Linked DNA regions of Homo sapiens: region 1 is linked to region 2. Evidence: promoter capture Hi-C in human tissues and cell types (Jung and others, 2019). All regions are on one chromosome and are shown on one strand. Each heading gives the region's core, a stretch centred on a gene start or on the middle of the fragment in contact. The rest is flanking DNA. Distances are from core to core; before and after follow the strand shown. Region 1 has its middle 120 kb from the start of SALL1. Region 2 holds the start of SALL1 (spalt like transcription factor 1).

Region 1 (5,487 bases), core at 2,981-5,480, 120 kb before region 2:
CAGGCATGAGCTGTTGCTGACAATGGTGTTACTCATGAGCACATGACTGTTGGTCAACAGCCTTGTCCCAGCTGGAGGAAGTCCACGGTCTAGTGACTTAGAGAAGTATTAAAAGGAGACAACCAGGTAATTACCACACACACACACACATAAACACTTTCAATAAATAATGTAGCTGTTCCCTGTATGTCTACCCTTGATATAATTTTTTCCTTTGTTTCTGATGAATAGACATAAATCTAAAAAGGAAGTATCCCAAGTATGTCTTGGCCACTTTTACTATATAGATAGACTGATGGGCAGTACAGATATCAGTAGGGTCCCTCTGCTTCTTATAATCTAGCTAAGAGTGGGTCAGGCTATGGAATGTCTGTGACCTTCAAGAGTCCTCTGATTTTTAGAATCACTTCTGACTTCAGGCACCCTACTTCTGCTGATTTGGAGAATTTTAGGAACCATCTGAGTCCTTCCAGTTTCTAATTGTCCAAACCAACCTGGAAGCCAGAAGGCAAAGGTACCCATGGATGTAGTTGACACAGCTGAGCCTCCCAGCACAGAAAGCAGGGTGGAGCTGAAGATGCTAGTGCAATACGTGAGCGTGTGTGCGTATACAATATGCTGCGTGGGTTTGGGTGATAGAGTCCTTTGTGTGTCTGTATAGGATTGGGAGTGGAGTGCATTGGCGCATCCCTGACCAGTTGGAGACAGGAGAAGTATGGGGTGCTCCCTTCCAAGATTCCAATTCCCTTCCTCAGATGGACTGGCTGATCCATGCCTCTTCTGGCTTCTTGGCTGATTTCGAGTTCCCCGGTCCCTCCCTAGGTGTAAGTGTCACCTCAGTGGAGCAGACCCTGAGTGACACAGCAAGCAAGATGCAGAGGAGATGGGAAGCTTTGATGGGAATCAGGATGTAAAGGGAGCCCATCTCAGGACAGGGGCCTTTGCAACAAATCAGGCCAGAGAGGGCGTTCCAGCATGCAGCATTCACCTGAGAGGAGGAAACGTCACCTGGTGGGCAAAGACTGAGAATATGCAATAGCTGAGGGGTTCTCAGGGCCCCTCATCTGCTTCCCCATGGGCTTAGGCCATCTCCTCACCTGCTCATGGGGTTCTCTCAGGCAGATCTGCCCTCCCACTTATACTTCCTTCATTTCCCAACACGTCTGCTTAACATCTTGCTCCCTCCTCTTAGGCACTTTTGTTTTATCATCTAATTTTTAACTGTCTTCCCCACTTCCAATCTCACCTTCCCTCAAAACACTTCTCATGGTCTCCATGAGGTCTCTCACTCCCAGGGATGTTATTCTGACCGTATAAACCTAGAAAACCATATCTGAGCACGATAACCTAATTTGAAGATGTCATCCAACATCCTGCTACACTCAGCCTAGTCCCCTAGCACTAGCTGGCTCTGCTCACAGCCCTAGGGAAGACACTCTTTCCTATCTATATGACACCACACTCGTAGGTAACAGCCAATTGTGTCAGGTGCATTTACTGACTCTGGAGAAGACAAGCCATGGGTGGCCAGTGCCCACTCACATCTGTTATTGCCCAACTCTTTGAACAATTGAGGGAGTTTGGAACAGAGTCAAGTCAGCATAGAGCACTAGAGAGATGTCTCTGGCCAGTGAGATCCCCATCACTGCCCTCTGTCCATCCTTCTTTCTTTTTTTTTTAGCTCGGTCACCCACCCAGGCTGGAGTGCAGTGGCGCGATCTCAGCTCACTGCAATGTCTGCCTCCTGGGTTCAAGCAATTCTCCTGTCTCAGCTTCCCAAGTAGCTAGGGTTACAGGCACCTGCCACCATGCCCGGCTAATTTTTTTATATTTTTAGTAGAGACGTGGTTTCACCATGTTGGCCAGGCTGGTCACAAACCCCTGACCTCAGGCGATCCGCTTGCCTCAGCCTCCCAAAGTGCTGGGATTACAGATATGAGCCACTGTGCCCAGCCTGCCCATCCTTCTTAAGTCCCATTTGTTTAAGTCTGTGGATTTAAACCAGAATGCAAAGCTGGACTGCAGATCACCTAGCTAAGCACCATTTTCTTTGTCTGTTGATCCAGGTAAACGGTTTGGTGAGTTTCACTGATACCCATCAGGAATTTAAAGATGAAGGGCAAGAGAGTCATGGGGTCCACCCTTTGGCCACATTCTGGCTGGGCCCACCCTACACCAAGAAGTTGTCTTTATAACGCTTTCTGTATAAAACCTTATATAACATATATATTATACATATTTTATATATATATATAACTTTATAAAGTTTTCTTCATAAAACCAGTCAATGAAGATTTTTCTTTTGTATTTTTAAATAATAGTCATTTTCATCTGAAAAGCTCATGAGAAAGCCAGTGGGGACAAGGACAGCAGTTAAAGACTCTGTGCGTATCCACACTGGAGCAGCAACCTGGAATAGCCAGAGAACTTGGGCTTTGAACTCACACTAAACTGGGTGCAAATCTAAGCTCCAACACTTCCCAGCCGTGACTTTGGGCAAGATGTTTGAACTCACTCATTTATTTACTCAGCAAATATCTGTTGAGCCCCTACTATGGCCTGACTAGGTGCTAAGCCCTGGGGCTACAGCGGAAATAAGACAGACATGCTCTGCCTCTACTAAGCTTCAACAGCGAAGAACTAAGCAGTTACCCTATCTTTGTTGTTAAGACAATAACTATTGTAAGAGCTATTGTGAGATCAGAATATATATATACATATGTATATATACATATACACATACACACTCATATACACACCACAGGCCTCCATCAACATGACCTTGCTCCCTTTTGCTTGAGTGAAACAGCTTCTGGGCAGCTTGATGCTTTCTAGATCTTGGCCTCCTGGCTATGTCTGCATATTTTCTTCAATGTCTAAGGAGTACTTAATGAGTGTCAATAATCTGCCTGGCACTGTTCTAGGCACTTGGGACACATCAGTGAACAAGACAAAGTCCCCAGGCTCATGGAGGTGCTAGATGGAGCCAAATGATGATCCCTGACATAACAAAGACAAAAATTGTGCATTGTCTCAGTTCCCGAGGCCCCGCAAGCAGACTCTGAGACAAGAGCTGGTGCAGGGATATTACCTGGGAGGTCATTCTAGGAAGCACAGGTGAGGAAGAGGAATGGGGAGGCAAGGCAGGGAAGAGAAAGATAATTAAAAACACCTCGGTAGCCTGGGCAACATGACCAAACTCCATCGCTACTAAAAATAAAAAACATTAGCTGGACACGGTGGTGCACACCTGTCGTCCTAGCTACTTAGGAGGTTGAGGTGGGAGGATCCCCTGAGCTTGGGAGACAGAGGTTGTAGTGAGCCAAGATTGCACCATAGCACTCCAGCCTGGGCGACAGAGCAAAACCCTGTCTCAAATAAACAAACAAACAAAAAGCATTAATGAGCAGAGGGTTACGGTTAGAGTTAGCCTGTTTTTAAACATCATAAGCATCAAATCATACAGGATATATGTATGTCCTACTTTGTCCTACCCTTTCTGCTCAGTCAGTATAATGGGTGTGAGATCCTTTCATGTCCCTGGATTGGTCTGAAGATTGCTCCTTCTCATTGCAGCGCAGTAGTCCACCATGTGACTCTACCATAATTCACTTCCCAGCCCAGGGCCTTTGCATTGTTTCTGATTTGGGGCTGTAAGCACCACTCTGAAGGTCTCCTTTAGATGAACACATGCTCATTTCTATTTGGTATTTACTCAGTGAGGCAGAATAGGGTCTGGAGACAGGAAACCTAAGGCTGATTTGTGCTGACTTCCTAGAACTGAATCCAAAGGAAAACCCCACCTTTCTACACGCAAGTAACAAAAGGATAAGAGGCTACTCCCTTTGCACTGCCTTGCAGATGAAAAATGAAGAGTACCTATAATTGGTCCCCTCCCGCAATCATTCAGGCTGGTCATGGGGCCAAGTCTTCATGTTTAACTTTGTAACTTGACTTCACCCTCTGATTGGTCACTTCTTGTGACCAATCAGACTGGTTGCAGGCCAAGTCTTCATTTACACAGGGTGTAACCAAGTAACCAATGGGAAACTCTGGAGGGTATTTTAAACTCCAGAAAATTCTGTAACCAACGCTCTTGAGCCACTTGGTCGAGCCAGCTCCTACTCTGTGGAGTGAATTTTTGTTTACATATATCTGTGCTTCCGTTGCTTCATTCCTTCATTGCTTTCTTTGTGCATTTTGTCCAATTTTTTGTTCAAAACGCCAAGAATTTGGATGACTTGTAGTCAAGACCCTCCACTGGTAACACCAGGAGTGGAATTGCTGGATTGTAGAGTTTGCATAGATTCAGCTTTGGTAAATAATTAGCAGATGTTTTGCAGGCCAATTCTGAAACAAAGAAAATAGTTACAGGTTTGACTGTTTTATACTCAACATGAAAATAGTTTGTAGACAGTCCCATGTGGGGTTAAAAATAAATATTTTTACAGCTGAAGTGACTTATTCTATTAAGAAGAAGAATGTCAGTGAGAAAATTGGCCCTCTTGTCGGCCAATATCCAGGCCTTTGGGGAACCCCTGAGGAAGCATCCTCCTCATTTGCCACTTTAAAATTAAAACATGCCAAAGGGGGACAGCTGGAGGAATGCAAGTGTCTCAAATGCCGTCTTTTATCCCCCCAAAGGTGTCTCTCCGCTCCAATTTCCAGAAATCCACACCGCATCTCCACCATTTTCAGGCTCAGGGAAGATGTTTATTGTTCAGTAGATACCTGTAAGCATCAAGGTTTGGGGAGTAGGGGGATATGGAGCAGTTGTAAGGATGCGAATTCTTGATTCAGACACACCAGGTATTAAAGCTTGAATCCTAGCGAGTGATCTTGGATGAATTATTTCCGCTCTTGGGTTCTGGTTTCTTCATCCACAAAATGGACAAAATAACAGTTCTTCTCACTGAGAGAGATTATGGAAAGGACTGTCTGAAATGCATGAAAAGGAATTAGCATAGGGCTAGTGCCTAATTCTCAGAAAACATTAACTGCAATCAGCATCATCGCTGTGGTCATTTGTATTTGCTAGCTGTCAGAGTGGGGATGTTCCCAGCTGTGCAGCACCCAAGTGGGCACTGAAGGTTCATTCTCCCCACCTCTTTCTTCCATGCGGCAACTAAGTCATCACTCTCCCCACCCCAGCTCTCTGAGGTAGCAGAAGAATCCAGGCTACAAGTGCCAGAATCACATCACACTGAGCTTGCTAATCCTTTTTGCCCTCAGATGTGGTTAGCTAGGGAGGGGAAAGGCAAGAGGAGGGAGAATGGCAAGTTGCGAACCCGGGACAACAAAGCTGAGCTGCCTGAAGCCTGCAGCCAGGAGCAAACGGAAACAAATTAGTTCAATCCCAGAATGTAAACCATCATTGACAAAGATGCATGGAAAAGCCATGCAAGGAAAGCCTGCTGCAATTTCTCATCTAGTTAGCAGAGGGATCAATGCCACCGGCACAGGCCCCGTAGAAGACACTGCGTGCGG
Region 2 (5,270 bases), core at 213-2,712:
GCCCTCCCCCCACCCCGCTTTCCGGCTCTGCGCCGCCACCTCGTCCCGGAAGGCTGGGGCGCGGCCCCCTCCCCAGGGCGGGGTGCCCAGGGGTCCCAGGGACTGGCCCAGTCCAGTGCCGGGTCCGCCCGGGCTGTGTCTCCCTAGGCCGGTGCTCGCTGCTGCGCTCAGTGTGAGCCGCAGCCCCTCCCCTCCCCCCGGCCGGAGCTGAACTCGGAGCCCAGGCCGGTCCCCGCTCTCCGCCCGCCCGGGGCTCTGCGGCGCCACCGCTGCCGCCGCCTCCCCGCGGAGTGACGCGCCCTGCAGCCAACCGGGGCAGCCGGGGGGGAGGTCCGGGAGGGGTCCTGGGCGGAGCCGGGCCGCCCCCTTATCCCACGGGCTCGGGGCTGCTTCTCCCGAAAACTTCAGCCCTAATTGTCCTGGGAATGTCCGAGGTAGAGAAAGGGAGCGAGGGAGCAAGCAAGAAGCTGGAGGATCAGTGCCCCTGGCGGGGAGGGGATGGGGTGGCGGGAGAACTGCCCCTCCCCCCAGCCACAAACCCATCAGGTTCCCAAACCTTTCCTGGATCCTCTTCTCCGCGCCCCCGCGAGCCCGGGATCCAGGGGATGGAGAACTCGGGGCGGAGGAGCGCCGAGCCAGGCGGGAGGGAGGCCGAGCCGTGGGCGGGAGGCGGACCGGCGTGGGGCTGGCTCTTCCCCACTCGCTTATTTTTTTTTTTAATGGGGGTGGGGGTGGGCTGCTTTCTGGTAGCTCTTAAAGAAACGAAGAAACACTCACGAAACGGGACGCCCTCCCCCCTGATCCCGCCGCGGGACTCCCTCCCCCCGCGGGCCGGCGCGCCTCGCCCCCGAGTTGGGAAGTTCGCAGCGCGCCGGCAGCCCGGGTCCCCAGCCCTCGCCGCCCGGCCCCACCCCCCACCCGGGGCGGCTCAATTCCGGGGAGGGCATGCTAATTTGGGTCGGCCCAGCCCGGGATTGTGGGGGGGGGCGAAGGAGGGAGGGAAGAGGGAGGGGAGAGGGAGAGAGCGGGGGGCGCCTGCCGGGGCGCCGGGCCCGCAGTGGAGAGGAGGCCGGCCCCCGGCGGCCGGGCCGCGGAGTCCCGGGCGGTCGCAAAGAGGGTTAACCCAGTGTCGGGCGGCGCGGCGCGCAGAGCCAGCCCCGCGGCCGGCTTATTGGGCCAGCGCGCGGAGAGACAGGGGTCTGCAGCAAATCACGAACTAATTGATTAAGGCGAGCGGGTTTGAATAGCGCTGGCCCGGTGCCAATCGCCTTTCAAAGAGCCCCTCTATGATTAATCGCAATGCATTATTGATAATCATAATTATAGCAGGACACATGCGCGCTGCGCCCGGGGCCGGGGAGCCGGGGAGGGGGCGGGCGGGCCGGCGGGCGGGGGGAGCCGCCGCCGCCGCCGCCGCTCGATTTCCGTAATTTTGAGAAGATTTTTTTTTAGTAATTTTTTATTCTGCCCCAGCTGATGTTTGAGCCAGCATGTCGCGGAGGAAGCAAGCGAAGCCTCAACATTTCCAATCCGACCCCGAAGTGGCCTCGCTCCCCCGGCGAGATGGTGAGTGCTCCGGCCCGCGCCGTGGACACACACACACGCACTCACACTCACGCACACTCGGACCCACTCACACGCGGCTGGCCCCCGCGCCCCCTACCTCACCGCCGCCGCGGCCCCGATTGCTTCTTCCACTCGGCGTAATTTTTTTTTTCTTTTTAATTTTCAATGTGCCTTTGCTGGGCTTTCCCCCGCTGCCCCGGGGAAAGCGAGCACATCTCCCGGCAGGATCTTTCCGGAGTTGTTGGGTCCTCCCGGGGGAAGGAGGGCGGGCATGCCGGCCTGGCTTCTCCGTCCCTGCTTTTCCGGGGATCCCAGCCGCGGCCAAGACCCGGGAGCCCCATGAGGCGTGGGTGCGGGTGGAGGTCGCCCCGGCCTGACCGCACGGGGCCCCTAGCGCTCCCGGCGCCGGCCCCAGGGCACCCGGCCCGGCCTCCGCCGCCCGGCCTTGCTGCCAGCGGTAAGGAAGTTTACTTCGGGCGCTGGGCTGAACTCCGAGCGTGGGGGAGTTCGCTGCGCCCCCCTGCCCCCACGCACACTCCCCCTCGGCCTGCGAGGCAGAACCGGGTGTCTTTGGAGGTTCAGAGCTGCAAGAAGATGGGGACTGGTGTCGGGGCGCCAGCGCCTGACCCGCTGGGGTTGCGGCCGGGGTGGAGAGTGCTGCTGGCCGCCAGTTGTTCCGGAGACGGTGCAAACGGACGGGGAAAGTGTCGGGGTCTGGCTCGCAAAATTTATCTCCGCATCTCTTCCCACAACACTTGCACCCTCTGCCCCCCAAAATCTTTCTGGTCGGTATGCGCCCTCTGCGGATCGTGGTGCTCCCTACTTCCAGGGGGGTCAGGGAAGAAGTCATAGAATAGTTTTCCAGGTTTGCGGGTGGCCAGCCAGAGTGGAATCCCCCCTGAAACAGGGGCACTTGTTTTCTCCGATGGAGGCGACAACTGTGGGTCCCGAAGGGGCTGAACAAGTCCAGAACAAAGTTTGTGTGTGGGGGCTATGGCAGAGAGTGGAAGAGATCCGGGCAGGGAGTTGGGGTACAAAGGGAGGACACCTGGAATCCCTCCTTGCTCCTAAAGGTGTTTCACGGTACCGGCCTCAAAGCTCCCAGGCCTAGCGCCCGAGGCGGTGTAGCGGCGCCCGGACTCGGGTCCCCGGGTCGTCCCGGCACGATGCTGGCCTCTCGGCTGTGGGAGGACGCACAAGGAGCAATCTCGGCGGGGTCTCAGCGGCTCCGGATGCCACTCGGGATGCCCACGCCCTAGGCGGCATTTTGGGGTGTGAAGGAGGGAGCTGGGCCCCGACAGAGCTCCGAAGCGTGACCCTGATCGGCACCTCAGCCCACTAAGCTGCGGCCGCCCGGGCCCCCAGGTCCCCGGCTCGTTTCCCAGAGGCCTGCCTCTCGGTAGAGCTGGGGCACAGTGAAGCGAAGGGACCCCCGCTCCCTTTACCCCTGATGTCGGGAAAGGGGAATCCTGACTTGGGGTCCCTGTAAAAAAATGGAGGACTTGAAATTAATTAAGAAATGCTTTACAATAGCCCTCCTCCCGGCCCCCAGTGTTTCCTCAAGCTTGAATCCTTACCCACGGCCTCTGCGATTTCTCAGTCCGCTGAAAAGAGCCCCTGAACCCCGCTTTCCACCCCAAGCGAAAGCGAGCACGCGGGGTAGATGGAGGTGAGATGACCCAAGGCCGCAGCAGCTGCGCCGAGTATTTTTCCGGGTTTTCTCAGCTTAGTTTCTTCTGCTTCCCGCAGTCACACTCATCTTTCCTAAAGTTTCTGGTGAGACCTTTTGCACCGGAAAACTGTTCAGGTTAACAGTTTGTACACAAAAAAGCAAACTAGAGATAAGAGAGCATTATATAGTGTGTTTTGTAAATTTGTACTGGTTTTCTACATTTAAAAAAAAAAAGTCTCGGCCTTCGAGGAGAAATGATGCGTGGAAGATCTTTGCCTTTTGCCTTCAGTATCAGGAATTTTTAATAGTTAAGTCTTCTCATAAAGCAATAATATAAAAGGAGTTCACTACCTCTTACCATTATTCTTTATTAGTACTATTTTTTTCAATTTAGTTTATTTGAGCTTTGAGGTAAGTTAAGTAACTCAATCAAGTTTCCTTTCTTTCTCTTTTCTCTCCTTCTTTTGATTTCTTTCTCTTCCTTCCTTTCTTTTTTCTTCGCAAAAGCTGGTACATTGTCCTAAAGAAGCAGTAAACTGTTAGGGGCTCCCTAGGAAACACCCCCTCCCAGCCTTCTTTCCTCACCTCTCCCCACCCCCTCCTCTTTTTCTTCAGTAGTAATGGTTTTAGGTTATGACTGTTTTTACATGGTTGAACAATAAGTTTGGGAGAAGTTGCCTAGAGGGTAGATTTTGTAATAGGGTTTCAGGATTTAGTGTGTTGTAATAATATTAGTACACAAGTAATCCTCCCCCAACGCTGGACATACAGGAGGGCCTAACATACTCCAGTTCTTTTATTTGGGAGTAGTTCTGAAATAAATGGCATTGAAAGTTCATGACATAACTCAAGGTTACCTTTTAAAAGTCACCTTTTCTGCAGTGAGTTCAGCAATCTCATTCTTCTCCCCACATATAACCCATACTTCTAGGAGTAGCTGGATTTTCTGTTTTGTTTTGTTTTTTACGTAAAGAAACATTGTTATATTTTTAGAAGGCAAGCCCCTTTTCAAACATTCTGATTACTTTTTCTTATGTCTTGAGATGGTCTTTGAAATATGACAAATGAAATATGAAACATACCAAATTAAATCTAGTTCATGCACTTCTCATTTATCAGCACCTCAGATTGTATGACTTCTACCCAGAGTGAGACCTAGAAAAGTTTGTAGACCTAAGTTACAGGAGCCCTAAAGAAGCAGCTCCCAAAGCTGAAAGCAGCTAGGGCTGCTTGGTGTTGTGTGTCCTGCCTGTGTGTGTTTGAGTGTGTGTGTGCTTACAAAGAAAATCCAGACCATGCTAAGGAGCCACACAGACAGCTTCATCTGAAGCAAATGCAAACAAAATACAAAAACAAAAACAAAAATGAGTATTTGGTCGATTTCAGGATGCTGGTATTTTATTTTACTTTAGTGTACAGCTGCTATGCCAGAAACACTCTAAACTTGGTAATTTTTCTGCTTCTTATGAAACCAAGATTATGGCAAATATGACTTGTCTCCTAAATGATATTCAACAAGTCTTGAATTACTTGCAGAAAGATGACTGCTACTGGAAAGACTGTTTATCAAGTTAAATAATTCTGAGGAAAGGGAATATTACAATCTAATGATTTTATATGTGGGCTCTTTACTACAAATTGGGATTTCAGTTATGTGTTTTGTGTGCGTAAGTGCATGTGTGCATGTGTGTGTGTGTGTGTGTGTGTGTGTGTTGGAGTTCTTCCTTTGGTGGCGTTTTTAAGATTCCTGTAACTTCTACATGGATGGCCCATTTAGACTCCATTCATTTATTTAAAAAGTATTTTGGTGCTCAGTTTTTTCAAGGAAAAGATAATATTGGAAGAATGAAACACCATGAATTGCAGATAAAACACTAACAATCATATGAAGTATCATAAAAATTCCTCTTATTTATATTAATAATGAAATTCTATTATTTAACCGAAGTAATTTGCTCATTTTGAGCAGCTTCATAGCAACACATTGATCTCTGGGCCCAAAAGGTTAGCGAGAACTGTAATTAATTGCTTT

The links. The method cuts DNA at HindIII sites, captures the fragments that hold promoters and counts their contacts. A contact is called where the count stands out against the background at its distance.
Region 1: a contact is called between a fragment that was not itself captured here and the fragment with the promoter of SALL1 in region 2, in 2 of the 25 tissues and cell types used here (dorsolateral prefrontal cortex and pancreas).

What each region holds. Positions count from the first base shown.
Region 1 is chr16:51,271,094-51,276,580 of GRCh38, reverse strand. No RefSeq gene overlaps it. Among named protein-coding and RNA genes, the nearest start is that of SALL1, 120 kb to the right of the region's middle. The HindIII fragment of the contact is 4,943 bases long and covers 1,759-5,487 here.
Region 2 is chr16:51,147,462-51,152,731 of GRCh38, reverse strand. It overlaps SALL1 (spalt like transcription factor 1), which reads left to right and starts at 1,462. Exons shown (of 3, transcript NM_002968.3): 1 at 1,462-1,566. The coding sequence starts at 1,491. RefSeq lists an enhancer at 1,765-2,265. The HindIII fragment of the contact is 9,229 bases long and covers 1-5,270 here.